Regions from separate parts of the Homo sapiens genome. Here all the other regions are linked to region 3. The links are contacts of gene promoters, found by promoter capture Hi-C in blood cells and fetal thymus (Javierre and others, 2016). All regions are on one chromosome and are shown on one strand. The core of a region is centred on a gene start or on the middle of the fragment in contact, and the rest is flanking DNA. Distances in the headings are between cores, read along the strand shown.

The links. Contacts are between HindIII fragments. The CHiCAGO score rates a contact against its expected background, and 5 or more counts as called.
Region 1: a contact is called between a fragment that was not itself captured here and the fragment with the promoter of MRPL19 in region 3, in 1 of 17 cell types (M2 macrophages). The highest score is 8.2, in M2 macrophages.
Region 2: a contact is called between a fragment that was not itself captured here and the fragment with the promoter of MRPL19 in region 3, in 2 of 17 cell types (M2 macrophages and naive B cells). The highest score is 9.3, in M2 macrophages.
Region 4: a contact is called between a fragment that was not itself captured here and the fragment with the promoter of MRPL19 in region 3, in 5 of 17 cell types (total CD4 T cells, total B cells, naive B cells and 2 more). The highest score is 9.9, in total CD4 T cells.

The regions. Positions count from the first base shown.
Region 1 is chr2:78,996,991-79,000,234 of GRCh38, reverse strand. No RefSeq gene overlaps it. Among named protein-coding and RNA genes, the nearest start is that of REG3G, 27 kb to the left of the region's middle. The HindIII fragment of the contact is 1,909 bases long and covers 645-2,553 here.
Region 2 is chr2:78,976,739-78,979,944 of GRCh38, reverse strand. No RefSeq gene overlaps it. Among named protein-coding and RNA genes, the nearest start is that of REG3G, 47 kb to the left of the region's middle. The HindIII fragment of the contact is 3,634 bases long and covers 1-3,206 here.
Region 3 is chr2:75,645,498-75,648,307 of GRCh38, reverse strand. It overlaps MRPL19 (mitochondrial ribosomal protein L19), which reads right to left and starts at 1,525. Exons shown (of 6, transcript NM_014763.4): 1 at 1,398-1,525; 2 at 1,089-1,206. The coding sequence starts at 1,500. RefSeq lists enhancers at 1,296-1,595, 1,431-1,725. The HindIII fragment of the contact is 2,636 bases long and covers 1-1,713 here.
Region 4 is chr2:79,887,286-79,890,456 of GRCh38, reverse strand. The region is part of intron 6 of CTNNA2 (catenin alpha 2); the gene reads right to left. Among named protein-coding and RNA genes, the nearest start is that of MIR8080, 22 kb to the right of the region's middle. The HindIII fragment of the contact is 3,213 bases long and covers 1-3,090 here.

The DNA of each region.
Region 1 (3,244 bases), core at 350-2,849, 3.4 Mb before region 3:
GCACCGCCCTGCTTCTGTCCCCTGGAGGACACTGCTACTTAGCTACACAGCACTGGTAAGAAAGGCAGGAGAGCAAGGATTCAATAGTCTGCCTGCCTGGCACCCAGTTGTAGCCCATCCTTGTTTCTGACACTGGCTTCCTACTTCTTGCCCTATTTCCCCACACTCTGTGACACAACTGACCCCTGTGTGCTTTGGTGATGACCTGACCCTCGCAGAGATGGAAACCTGCTCAACCTGAGAAGTCCTGTGAAATAACCATTTAAGAATATTAGGCCTGTTGCAGCCAGGAGCCCTGGGTGATGGCACAGGCTGTTCTGCTGTGGATCCTTTTTGTGATCTTGGGCAAGACTTTCAGTCTCTGCTTCCACCTGCTCCCAAGAGAGTCAGAACCTACCTGACCTCCTTCAGAGGGATATTTTGAAAATGGAATGAGATAACATGTAGACTTAAGACAGATCTGGGATTGAGATTTGGGATTATACATGTTTGCCTTCTTTGTAATTTGGTTGGAGATTAAGTCAGTTCAAGTAAAAATGAGAATATAAGAGATTTCTGGAAAAAAAAAAAAAGCCCAGTCCAGATAGAATCCTGCATTTCTCAGAAGTAAACACAAGAGGGTGCTATAAGCCTGTCATAAAGCTTGTGCAGGCCTAGGACTTTACTTTCTGATTTTTTATTTTATTTTTATTTTTTGAGAAGGAGTCTCACTCTGTCACCCAGGCTGGAGTGCAATGGCCTGATATCGGCTCACTGAAGCCTCCGCCTCCCGAGTTCAAGAGATTCTCCTGCCTCAGCCTTCCAAGTAGCTGGGATTACAGGCACATGCCACCAAGCCCGGCTAATTTTTGTATTTTTAGTAGAGACGTGGTTTCACCATGTTGGCCAGGCTGGTCTCGAACTCCTGACCTCAGGTGATCCACCCACCTCAGCCTCCCAAAGTGCTGGGATAACATGTAGACTTAAGACAGATCTGGGATTGAGATTTGGGGTTATACATGTTCACCTTTTTTATAATTTGGTTGGAGATTAAGTCAATTCAAATAAAAAAGAGAATATAAGAGACTTCAGAAAAAAAAAATAGCCCAGTTCAGATAGAATCCTGCATTTCTCAGAAGTAAAAATTAGGGATTACAGGTGTAAGCCACCATAACCCAGCCCTTTTCTGATTTTAATGCTAGCTTAGATTTCTGTGCCACCCTGCTTTACTGATGTTTTCCAAGTAATGATTCACAAGGTCAAGTTTATTAGAGGAGTATCATCTGGACTCAGTCTGATTCTGACCTTGTGCAATACTTCTATGAAGTGGGCTGAAGACTTCTTTCCACTTCTAAATCTGAGATCCCTGTTTTCCTTCATGTACCTGAATCTCTGTCCATCTGATAATTGACAGAAAACTTTGCTGAACAAGGTCTCATGACTTACACAGGACAGGGGAAAGAGAAGGATCCAAGATCTAGAATCAAGCCCTGTGGTGGTGGCAGGTCAGAGATTGGGAGACAGAACAACGGCAGTACTGAGAGATGGTCAGGTTTGGGCAATTGAAGCTGAGGCTGTGCAGTATAGGTCAGACTTTCCTTCCACACAGAGGAACCAAGACAGCAGCAAATGGTCCCAGCTGCCCTGATGGGGGTAGGAGCAAGATGGACTTGGATTCAGGGTGGAGGCACGTCTAGTGTGAACAGGGTGTTGCTATCAATTCTACTTGCTGATGGCATCGGGAATACAGTGATGGCATCAGTAAGTTACAGTGACTTGGCTTCCAATTAGTCTGGGGAGCCTAGCAGGATGATGGCAAGCTCCCATTCTTGGCACGAAATCTGGGTCCAGACAGGTTATCAGAGCAGAAAATAGATCAAGAGGACTGAGCTCACAGAACTGAAGACCAACAAGGTCTGTTGGGCCTCAATTTGAACCCTGGGCTATAATGGCTGAACTTCTGAACCAAGAGAATGTGGAGCTCAGAGCATGGCAACCTACGAGCTGCAAACACAGCCTCCCTCCTTTTATTACGTATTGTCTGTAGCTGCTTTTTTGCTGCCACAGAGTTGAGTAGTTGCAACAGGGACGATATGGCGTGTGGTCTAAAATATTAGTATCTGGCCCTTTATGGAAAAAGTATTCTACCCACTGGTCTAGTCTAGATCTCCCTTTTAGGATGAGGATATTGATTCTCAGAGCAGTGAAGGGGCCAGGACAGAAGAAAACAGAGATGAGGTAGACCTCAGGTCACCTGGAGAGTGCTGTGTCTTTATGCTCCTGCCTCACTCTTGCCTGCTGGACACATCTCATCTCCCACATGCATTTGAATGCCAAGTGTCATGTTTTCCAAGAAAGGAAGTTGGCCCCAACTCTGAAAGCATTTGGGGCTTCTGCAAGTGAGTGAGGAGGATGTGTGTGTGCGCAGCTGTGTGTTTTATCATGCTGCGTACCTGCTCCTGATGTCTATCCCCTTCCCTGTAGTGTAGCCAGTGTCTCTCCTCTTATTCCAAGGTGGCTGTATCTGCCAGGTGTTATTCTCAAGCACCTCAAGCCTGAAGAATAGGGCAAGCTTTCTCTTTATTTTATTGTTTTAAAATGTTTAAATTGTAGTATTTAAGGTGTACAACATAATGTTTTGGTATACATAGACCTAACGAAGTGCTTATCACAGTCAAACAAATTAACATAGCCGTCTTCCCACAGAGTTACCTTTTGGTGTCTGTTGAAAGCACCTGAAATCTACTCTTGGCAAATTTCCATGATTTGTTTTCAACTAGGATGTGTGAACTACCATATCCAAGGAAAGAAGCTGTAGGTGGAGTCAAAACCTTAGGAAGGATTAGAAGATGCAGTGAGGGCTGGCATGGTGCCTCACGGTGTAATCCCAGCACTTTGGGAGGCTGAGGCGGGTGGATCACTTGGGTCCAGGAGTTCAAGACTAGCAGAAAAGTTTGAGACCATGCAAAACCCCATCTCTACAAAAAATACAAAAATAGCCAGGTGTGGTGCCCATGCTCATGATCCCAGCTACTAGGGAGGCTGAGGTAGGAGGATCACCTGAGCCTGGGAGGCAGAGGTTGCAGTGAGTTAAGATCATGCCACAACACTGTAGCCTGGGCAACAGAGTGAGACCCTGTCTCAAGAAAAAAAAAAAAAAGAAGATTCAGTGATGCAGTGAAGAGAAAATAAGACATTGCACGCTGCTCCCAAAGGATTTCTGCAACTCAGATTTAGCACAATGCCAGTCTATACTCATGCACCT
Region 2 (3,206 bases), core at 341-2,840, 3.3 Mb before region 3:
AATAGGTTAGTAACTATCAATATTTTCTGATATATCTAAGTATGCTGTCCGAGAAAGTCACCATTGCTTTGGTTTGGGAAGGTGTTCCTTTGTGTAAAGAAGCAGAGGACCAGCAGGTGGCAGTGTATCCCCACCTGTGGGAGGAGAGTTCCTTGGTCATGCATGAAAAGCCCCCCGCTCAGGCTGGAAACAAATAACATAAAAATATTTCTTTACTCTGTGGAAAGTGGAAATTCATCAACCATTTTCTTTTTTTCTTCACACAGCTGTAGAGTGTTGGTGAAGTACCTCCTCTCAGAGTCCTTGTCTTTTGGGGTGACACGGCCCTGCCAGCTCACAGGTCCTCGGGTGCCCTTGCCATTTCCCAGGGCGGATATTGCAAAGTCCTGCCAGAGACCACTCAGATGCCTGTGTCACAGTCGCCCAATATGAAGTGTGTGCTCTCCAGAAAAGCAGTATCCTCCAGCACACTCTCGGGTTAATAGAAAGGGTGCTAGGGGAACACAAGGGATCCCAATTCCTCACTGCCTGAGATGATAAAACATCCCTGGGGTGATGCTCAGCAATGCAAAGACATGAATGAATAAGCTGGAAGGAATCTTGGAGTTCCTGGCTATCCTCTTCATTTCAAAGAGAAAGCAACAATGGCAAACCAAAATTATCCACCCCAGACCACCCAGCTCATTATGTGGTAAAGGCAAGACTAGCACTCAAGTCTCCTTGCAACCCAATTAATCTTTTTTCCCATACGTTTACAATGCATTGGTATTAGGCAAAGAAAAGTTCGGCCGGGCACGGTGGCTCACGCCTGTAATCCCAGCACTTTGGGAGGCTGAGGCAGGCAGATCACCTGCAGTCAGGAGTTCGAGACCAGCCTGGCCAAAACGGTGAAACCCTATCTCTACTAAAAATACAAAATTAGCCTGGCTTGGTGGCGGGTGCCTGTAATCCCAGCTACTCAGGACGCTGAGGCAGGAGAATCACTTGAACACCAGAGGCGGAGGTTGCAGTGAGCTGAGATCACGCCACTACACTCCAGCCTGGGTGAGAAAGAGAGACTCCATCTCAAAAAAAAAAAAAAAAGAAAAAAGAAAAAAAAAGTTCTGAACAGGTCAAGGGAAAGGAAATGCTTTTGTTGACTGGTTTCTGTATTCCAGGCACTGTGCTTTTTTCTTTTGTACGCACAGTCCTTCAATCCCCAGCTGCTAGCAGATGTGATTATCTTTTCATATATTCATCACCTGAAGTGCAGAGGGGTTGCATGAGTTGCCTGAATCACTTGGCTAGTAAATGGTGGTAGAAATTTGTGTCTCACACTTGCAGAGAGAAGCAAGAGTCAGTTTTTAGAAGTCTTTAAGCCCTGAGCAGGGAGGAATGTGTAAGGATTAGAGGACCAGCATCAAAGGTTGGCTCCTCCTTTGTCTTTGTAAATACTACTCTGCCTTTCATGTTGTGCTTTCCCCAGTCCCATTTTACATTGGAATCTTCCCACAAAACTTTCTCTGAACAATCCATCTCAAAGTGCTTAATCCTCTGAACAAATGTATTATTTTTGCTTATCAGGCATGTATCATTTACTGCTTTTAAGAAACAATGATCTCTTTGTGTAAAAAATAATATTTTCTTCCAGTTTGATGATAGGTGATTACAACTATTCTGATTGCATGATGGATTAAATATTTAAGAAACCAGTTGGGGTTTACAAAAATAGAATGAATCCCTTCAGGGAACATTGATAATACTCTCTTAAGACTGATATTTTCTAGTTCTCTATGTTGAGAATCTTTTAGAATGGGGATCAGTGCCCTCAACTCTCCACAAGTGTTGAACTAGTGACCTGGTACATTGGTCGGGCTACCCTTGACAGCTGCAGGCATGTGGCTTTTCTGGAGAAATGAAGCAACTGTCAACTTTCCCATAGTCTAGTTTCTATAATTCATGCAGTGTGCACTGTGTAGAAGGTGGATCCTGGGATAGCAAAACCAGAGTGACTTAGATTATATAGGCAGTCATATGTGGACTGGCGTGTTAAAATTCAGTCACCAATGGAGTAGCTTAGAGCTAACTCCTCCCAACAAAGGAATTGCATGTTGAATGGCAACCATCATCACGCACAGTAGAAGTCTCTTTTTGAGGAAGTATTTTTTCTAGGTAAAGAAAGAGGAAGTGGGCCATCGGTGGTTAATTTACTGTGTTGAGTAACACTGAAAGTTTCCTAGTTCCCAAACAGGGTGGACTAGTGAAACTAAGGTGATTTTTCTGCTCATAAGGTCACACTTATGTGTTATACTACATTTCTGGGAATCTTGTCATAAATCTGCATCACAAAAAGTAACCTGTATCTATCTCTCTAAATCCTGAGACTAAGTCATATACTAGGTATTTTATTCCTTGAAATACCAAAATCAGAAAAGGTAGAATGGAAAAATATATAGCTTTAGAATCAGACAGGAGTGAATTTGATTCTTGATACTGGCATACATTAGTCACTTGAGCTTACATATCACATCAGATCTCATTTTTCTGCCTATGTGCAAAGTGAGGATAATAACATCAGCGTTAAAGAGGATTGGATGAGGGAATGTTAAGTTTGTGAAGCATCTAGAGTAGTACATGCCATTTAATAGTTGCTTAATATAAAACAATAACAGTTATATTAACCAATGAGGCAAGGCCACTTGAAAACGGCTTGCCATTGAGAAGAGAGGGAGAAACGGTCCTATTTTTTAATGGCAGGCCAGTTGCTCACTCACTTGTTCTTTCATTCATTCGCTCACGCACTCACACACAGTATTTTACAAAACCTGAGCTAGGTACAGTTATTGAATGACAACGTGGTAATTTCTTAACTTTAAAAATGAATTATATTGAGATATAATTTTATATTATACAAACATATTTTCAAGATAACAAAGATTAGAGAGAATAAATAAAAATGGAAAATAGAGAAACAATAGGGAACATCAACAAAACCAAGAGCTGGTTCTTTGAAAAGATCAACACATTTGATAAACTTTAGCTAGATTGTCTAAGAGGAAAGAAGATTTGAATTACAATCAGGAATGAAAGAGGGGATGATTTTACAGAAATATAAAAATAATCTTAAGAGTGTACTATGAATAATTGTACACCCAAATTGAATAATTTAGATGAAATGGACAAATTCCTAGAAACATACAACCTACTGAGACTGAATCATGAAAAAA
Region 3 (2,810 bases), core at 276-2,775:
TTGTGTGCTTTCTGAGTGAGAAGGTATACACAACTTAAACTTAGTAAATTCTGTCAAATTGTTCTCTAGAGCATATAATTTACATTCCTATTTAAGTGAATTCTATTAAATGCCACTGTTTAAAAGAGATATTCCATTTCTACCCTCAAAAGCAAAGTTTTATGAAGAAATATTTTCTGAATCTCTTAGTTCTCTAACTCCAAGTTTACTTCTATTTAAATCCGTGGAATATTTTAAATGTTAAAAAAAGAAAAGAAAAAAAAAAGCCAGGCGTGGTACCAGTAGTTCCAGCTACTCTGGAGCCTGAGGCGGGAGGATCACTTGAGCCCAGAAATTTGAGGCTGCAGTGAGCTAAAATCACCACTGCACTCCAGCCTGGGAGACTGAGAGAGACTCTGTCTAAAAAAAATTTAAAAAATAAAAAAATTAAAAATCCCAGAAGTAATCCAATCAATAATCTACAGCCCTTTCAAAAAGCCTATAATCATATCAGGTTTTTCCTCTGAAAACTGGCTTTTTAAAAAGGTTGCTACATAGCTCTCTTTTCAGACCTTAAGTCCTTTAAATTTACATGTACCTCCAAGATTACCACCATTCATATAAGTTTTTATTCACACTATTTTGATGAGTAAGTTTCAGACACAATTTAGTGGCCAGTTTTACTGTGCTTTGTCTGCCAAAACTTCCAACCTAAACCATAGCAAATTTTTTAAGTTGGCCAATCGATTCCTATCCAGGGTTAAGGGTCTTTTGAGAGAAAAGAAGAGCTCTTGGACGTAAACAGGTATAAACAGGATATACCTCAGAGAAAAACTCTGGTACAGGACAAATACCACAGAGAAAAGAGTTTAAAATATGGGGAACCCCTACTTGAAGTTCTGACTCAATAAAACTGCAAAGAAGTTCAATGCTGGCTTGGGGAGAAGTGAGAAAGAAAGAACAGTGTGGTGCGCTGGCTCTTGAATCCTACACACCTGCTCGTGCAGGGGGAGGTGCAGCCCCCACCTTAGAGCCGGGACCTCGAACGCGAACGCGCTCACGCGCGCACCGACCCCAGTTGCCGGCCTAGCGCCAGGGCAGTGCCTCACCTGCGTTCCGGTTCCACGGGGCGGTGCTTGTCCACGATGACCGGTTTCGGCGGCGGTTGGAACGCACCGGGCTCGGAAGGCCCAGTGCTCTGCTGCCGGACAGGCCCCGCGTGGACCCCTGCGGGAGCGGACGACGGAGGTCAGAACTCTCGTGCCAACCCTGAGATCCCGCAGAGCCCCGCAATCTCCCCCAACCCGGCGTCCCACGGGGGACCAACGCTGGGGTTGCCTCTGATCTCCAGGTTCGCCTCCCCCATCCTGACCCTGGGCCCCTAACGCGCCCCAGCTCGCAAGTCCGGCTCCACTTACTGCAGGCGATAGAGGCCGGCGGGGGGAGCAGAGTCCTGGCGGCTTGGAAACTCCGGCCTAGGCCCATTGCAGCCCAGTGCCCCGCTGCAATGCAGGCCGCCATGCCAGCTAGCTCACGTCAAGACTACAGCTCCCAGTAATCAGTGCGACGAGGTTGTTGCTGTCTGCCACCATATGGCGGCTGCTATGGGACAAAATGGATAAGTCTCTCCTCGCTCCTTTCCTGATGTCTTAGGAAAAGTGCACGTTTCTCTAGTTCCTCGTAATGCGCCAAGTTACACCCCTCCACAGGGGTGTTCTCCCAGCCTAGAAAGCTTTTTCCTCCCCCTATGAATCCACTCTATCTTCTCAGACAAGCTTTCGCTATGCGAAAATCCCATTGTAGGCCGTCTTTCCCACTGGGTGCCTTCGATTGGCAGCTCTGATCTCATTTGCAATTCTTTCTTGTGTAATTATTAGATTAGTATTTAAATCTGCCATTATACTATAATGAGGCAAGGGAAGGGATAAAGTCTTCTTTTTGCTCACCATGTTATCCCAGCACCTAGCACCTACCTGGGCCCTCACTAACATCTTTTGTTTTGTTGAGACAAGGTCTTCCTCTGTTACCCAGGCTGGAGTGCAGTGGCGCGATCATGGCTCTGCAGCCTCCAACTCCTGATGTCAGGAGATCCTCTCACCTCAGCCTCCCGAGTAGCCAAGACTACAGTCTCGCACCATCACGCCCAGCTAATTTTTCTAATTCTTTGCTGAATGCACAGAAAAGAGAATAGAATAGTTCCTGACAGAACTGCTGGCCCATAGTCCTTGAGACTACACAAAGCATTAACCCTTTGAGGAACCCAAATGAATTTGGGCTGGGCAACTGTGGGTATGGATAGGTGGGAGAAGTAAAGCTGGAAAAGGTAAATTGTAAGTCTTGTTAAGAAATTTGGAAAATGACTGGGCGTGGCCAGGCATGCCTGTAATCCCAGCACTGTGGGAGGCCGAGACAGGAGGGTCCCTTGAGCTCATGAGTTGGAAACCAGCCTGGGCAATATAGTGAGACCGTATCTCTAAGAAACAAACACACAGCCGGGCGCAGTGGCTCACGCCTTTAACCCCAGCATTTTGGGAGGCCGAGGCGGGCAGATCGCCTGAGGTCAGGAGTTTGAGACTAGCCTGGCCAACATAGTGAAACCCCGTTTCTACCAAAAATAAAAAAAATGATCCAGGTGTGGTGGCAGGCTCCTGTAATCCCAGCTACTTGGGAGGCTAAGGCAGGAGAATCGCTTGAACCTGGGAGACAGAGGTTGCAGTGAGCCGAGATCGCGCCATTGCAACAAGAGCGAAACTCCGTCTCAAAAAAACAGAAAAAGAAACACACACAAAAAAAGAAATTTGGAATTTGTTATTTCAGCAGTGGTTATATAA
Region 4 (3,171 bases), core at 235-2,734, 4.2 Mb before region 3:
AAAACAAGCAGTGTCAGTTTCAAACTCCTTCACAGGACACTTGGGGAAGAGACAATCTGGTTGGGAGGGAGACAGGACCTGTCTTCAAACTGCATTTGCATACCATGCACATTCTTAGATTGCATGATTATTTGGCAGCATCTTTTGGACAGAACATGTTTAAAATACGATAAACTGCTTCAGGCTGTGGTTCCTGGATTCATCAGGGACCACAGTCTATGTCATCTTTTCTCCCTTTATCCCTACCCGCTTTCTGCCATTCGCTCCTCTTTATTCCAGGTGCTCGCTGAGCAATCTTCAGAGACCAACAAAGCAGAAGAAATCTCATATTTAATGTGAAACTAAAAATGGCATTCACAGCATCAGAAGCTGGTTAAGCAATAAGAATTCCCAAATAGACACAATGGAGAAACTTACATTCTTAGTATTCACACTGGACTTGTTAGGTCTCACGTTAAGAATCACTCTTACACCAAGAGGTAATTTAATCTGTTTGGAATTTCTCCTGTCACATAGAATGGCCAGCCTCTCAAGACTGCTTTATGCTTTGGCCAGACCTTCTTTGGAGTCTGTTATGCATTAGGGTTTGGCTATAGGCAAGGGAGAGCAAATGACATTATAATATCAATAGCTACTCTCCAGTGGCATAACAACTTTTCAGTCAGGAGCTTTTTCCCAGGGTTTTTCTAGGGAATAGCTTCACAGCTGAATCTGGATGAAAGATGTCTGGCCAACACGTCTATTAAGATGGGTAGGAGAAGAAGAAAACTAGTATTTATGAGTGCCTACTATAGATTAGACACATATAAATGTTCATCCCACAAAACTACCACCAACTTGGAGTCAACATTATTATCTCATTTTATAGATGAAGAAACAGAGGCACAGAGGGAAGAGTTATTTGGTAAGATTCAAACACAAGCCTGTTCTCTGCCCTATGAGATGCTGTCCCACCATTGTTTAGCATGGCCAATGTAACCAGGTCAAACCACAACCGACTATTTATGTTCTCAGTTATGTTGGGTGCCTGCTAATCATACGTGCATATGAGTAATTGTTTTTCTACAGCCTTAGCTCAATGAATTTATACAATCAGAAAAAAAGACAGTATCAGAGAACATTTGGGGAAATAAAGAATGGGACTCAATAGGTTATAGTGAAGTTTCCATAATATTCTGCTGGAAAAGAAGTTCAGGAAATACGTTGAGCAGTATGGTTGAAAAATCCAAATGGATGCTTCACGTGCAGTTGTTGCACGTGTGTGTGTGTGTTTGTGTGTGGTTTACTTCACCACTGAATCAAACTAAATCTTAGAACATTTAAGTAACTCCCTATCACGTTCCCAGCACTGTAACATAGGAAGCACACGAGAAGTCATAATCCTGGAGGGAGAAGTAAAGATTAGCAGTACTAACATAAGAAATCACACAGAAAGACTAAAGTATTAAATGTATTTAAAGATTAAAAAATCAAACATTTTAAATAAACCACATGTTGCTCTAATAAAGAGTTCACTAGATAAGTGGCCTTATTTGGGTCCGAAATTTGAAAAAGTATAACTAATAGATAAGTGACAATCAAAATTATACTTGCCATCACATGTTAGACAATTTTGAATATCATAATCAATTACATCAGTATTCATTATTATATTTGGTACTAACTTGAAATAAAGGTGAAATCAGACCTAAAGAATCTGTCAATATTCTCAAAAGCAAAAATCAGTCACACTAGGAAGAAAACAGATTCTTACATTTTTCGCTGCCTCAAGAAATAACCCAAGATTGGAAATATAATAATTTTGATTAAACCTGATAGGGGGCCAAAAAATCAAGATATAAATTGCAATTATAAAAAAAAGTACTTCAAATTTCATTCTTTTATTTGCTCAACAATTTTTAGAGATCTTTAGTGATTGAAATGCGCAAGAGAAAAGTAAATTGTTTTGGAATATTTCTTAAAGCAAGTAAAAAAATTGAAAGGTAAATGATTCTATCAGAAAATACTCCTAGATTTATAAAACCTTAGGAAAGAAAAGCTGTTTAGAAGCAATATCAGAGGTATCGATAACCTATACAAGAGGTGTCAATAACCCGGAAAGAGATTTCTGGGCAGAAAAGATGGATTCTGGAAAGTGAAGCGGTATAGCTCAGGAAGCAGTGAAGACTATGTTGTCTACGATGATGCCTAACCTGGTCCCCAAGCACCCAGCAGAACCAGCCTTGACTCACCACCCTACCTTGCACTCCTCTTCCTATAAGCTCACATGTATTGCATCTATCTTTATCACCATCCCAGAGGTAGGGATGGTTTTAAGAATTAGCTGGACTTGCATTGCATAACATTAGTGTTCAGAAGGTTGTCATAGGTAGACTAAACACTTTTTGACGGATGACTACACACTGTCCATATTTGCATCCCTTGGGTTTGAGCCCGTATTACATATATAAATTGTAGTATGTTTACAGGGATCTAAGAACCCACAGGAGTGTTTCTTAATGCTTTGTTTGGCCACCAGATGTCAGTGTAGGATAAAGAATGCTGGAACGCTCCTGCTTGTTTCCAGTTAGAAAGAATTGAAAAGGCAGTTTTGATGAGTTTAATTTGCCATTGAAAAAGAAGAAATAAATTTGGAAGGTACTCCACTGGGAGAAGATACGATGAACAGGTGAGGATTTCTGGTTCCCACTAAGCATCAGTTACTGATACTATGCCCTAAAGATGGAAAAGTTTGTCTCCACTTTTCAAAAAAGTATCAAAAAGTTGTTTTTTTCTTTTTTAAGAAGTAAAAAGAGCATGCTAAGCACATAGTAGGAGCCCAATTAAGCACAAACAGATTAACCTAAGTTAGAAAAATCCTAGACTTTGTAGAATTTTGTTTAAGAATATTCAAAATATATAATATCTGCATAAATGACTAGGGATTTAACAATCATACTGATGGGAACGGAAATGAACTAAGAGCCAAAAAAATCAGTGCAAGAAAGTTATATTATGTAAAAACATCAAATTTTCCAAAAAATGACTGAAATTTCTCAAGATTTCATAATTAGACCTAGAAAATGTTTGGTTTTTTAATTAGCTAAAGCTTACATGACAATACAAAACACTATTTCAATATATGGAAATAAAAAGTACAATTCTCATGACCTGTTGATTCTACTTCCTCAG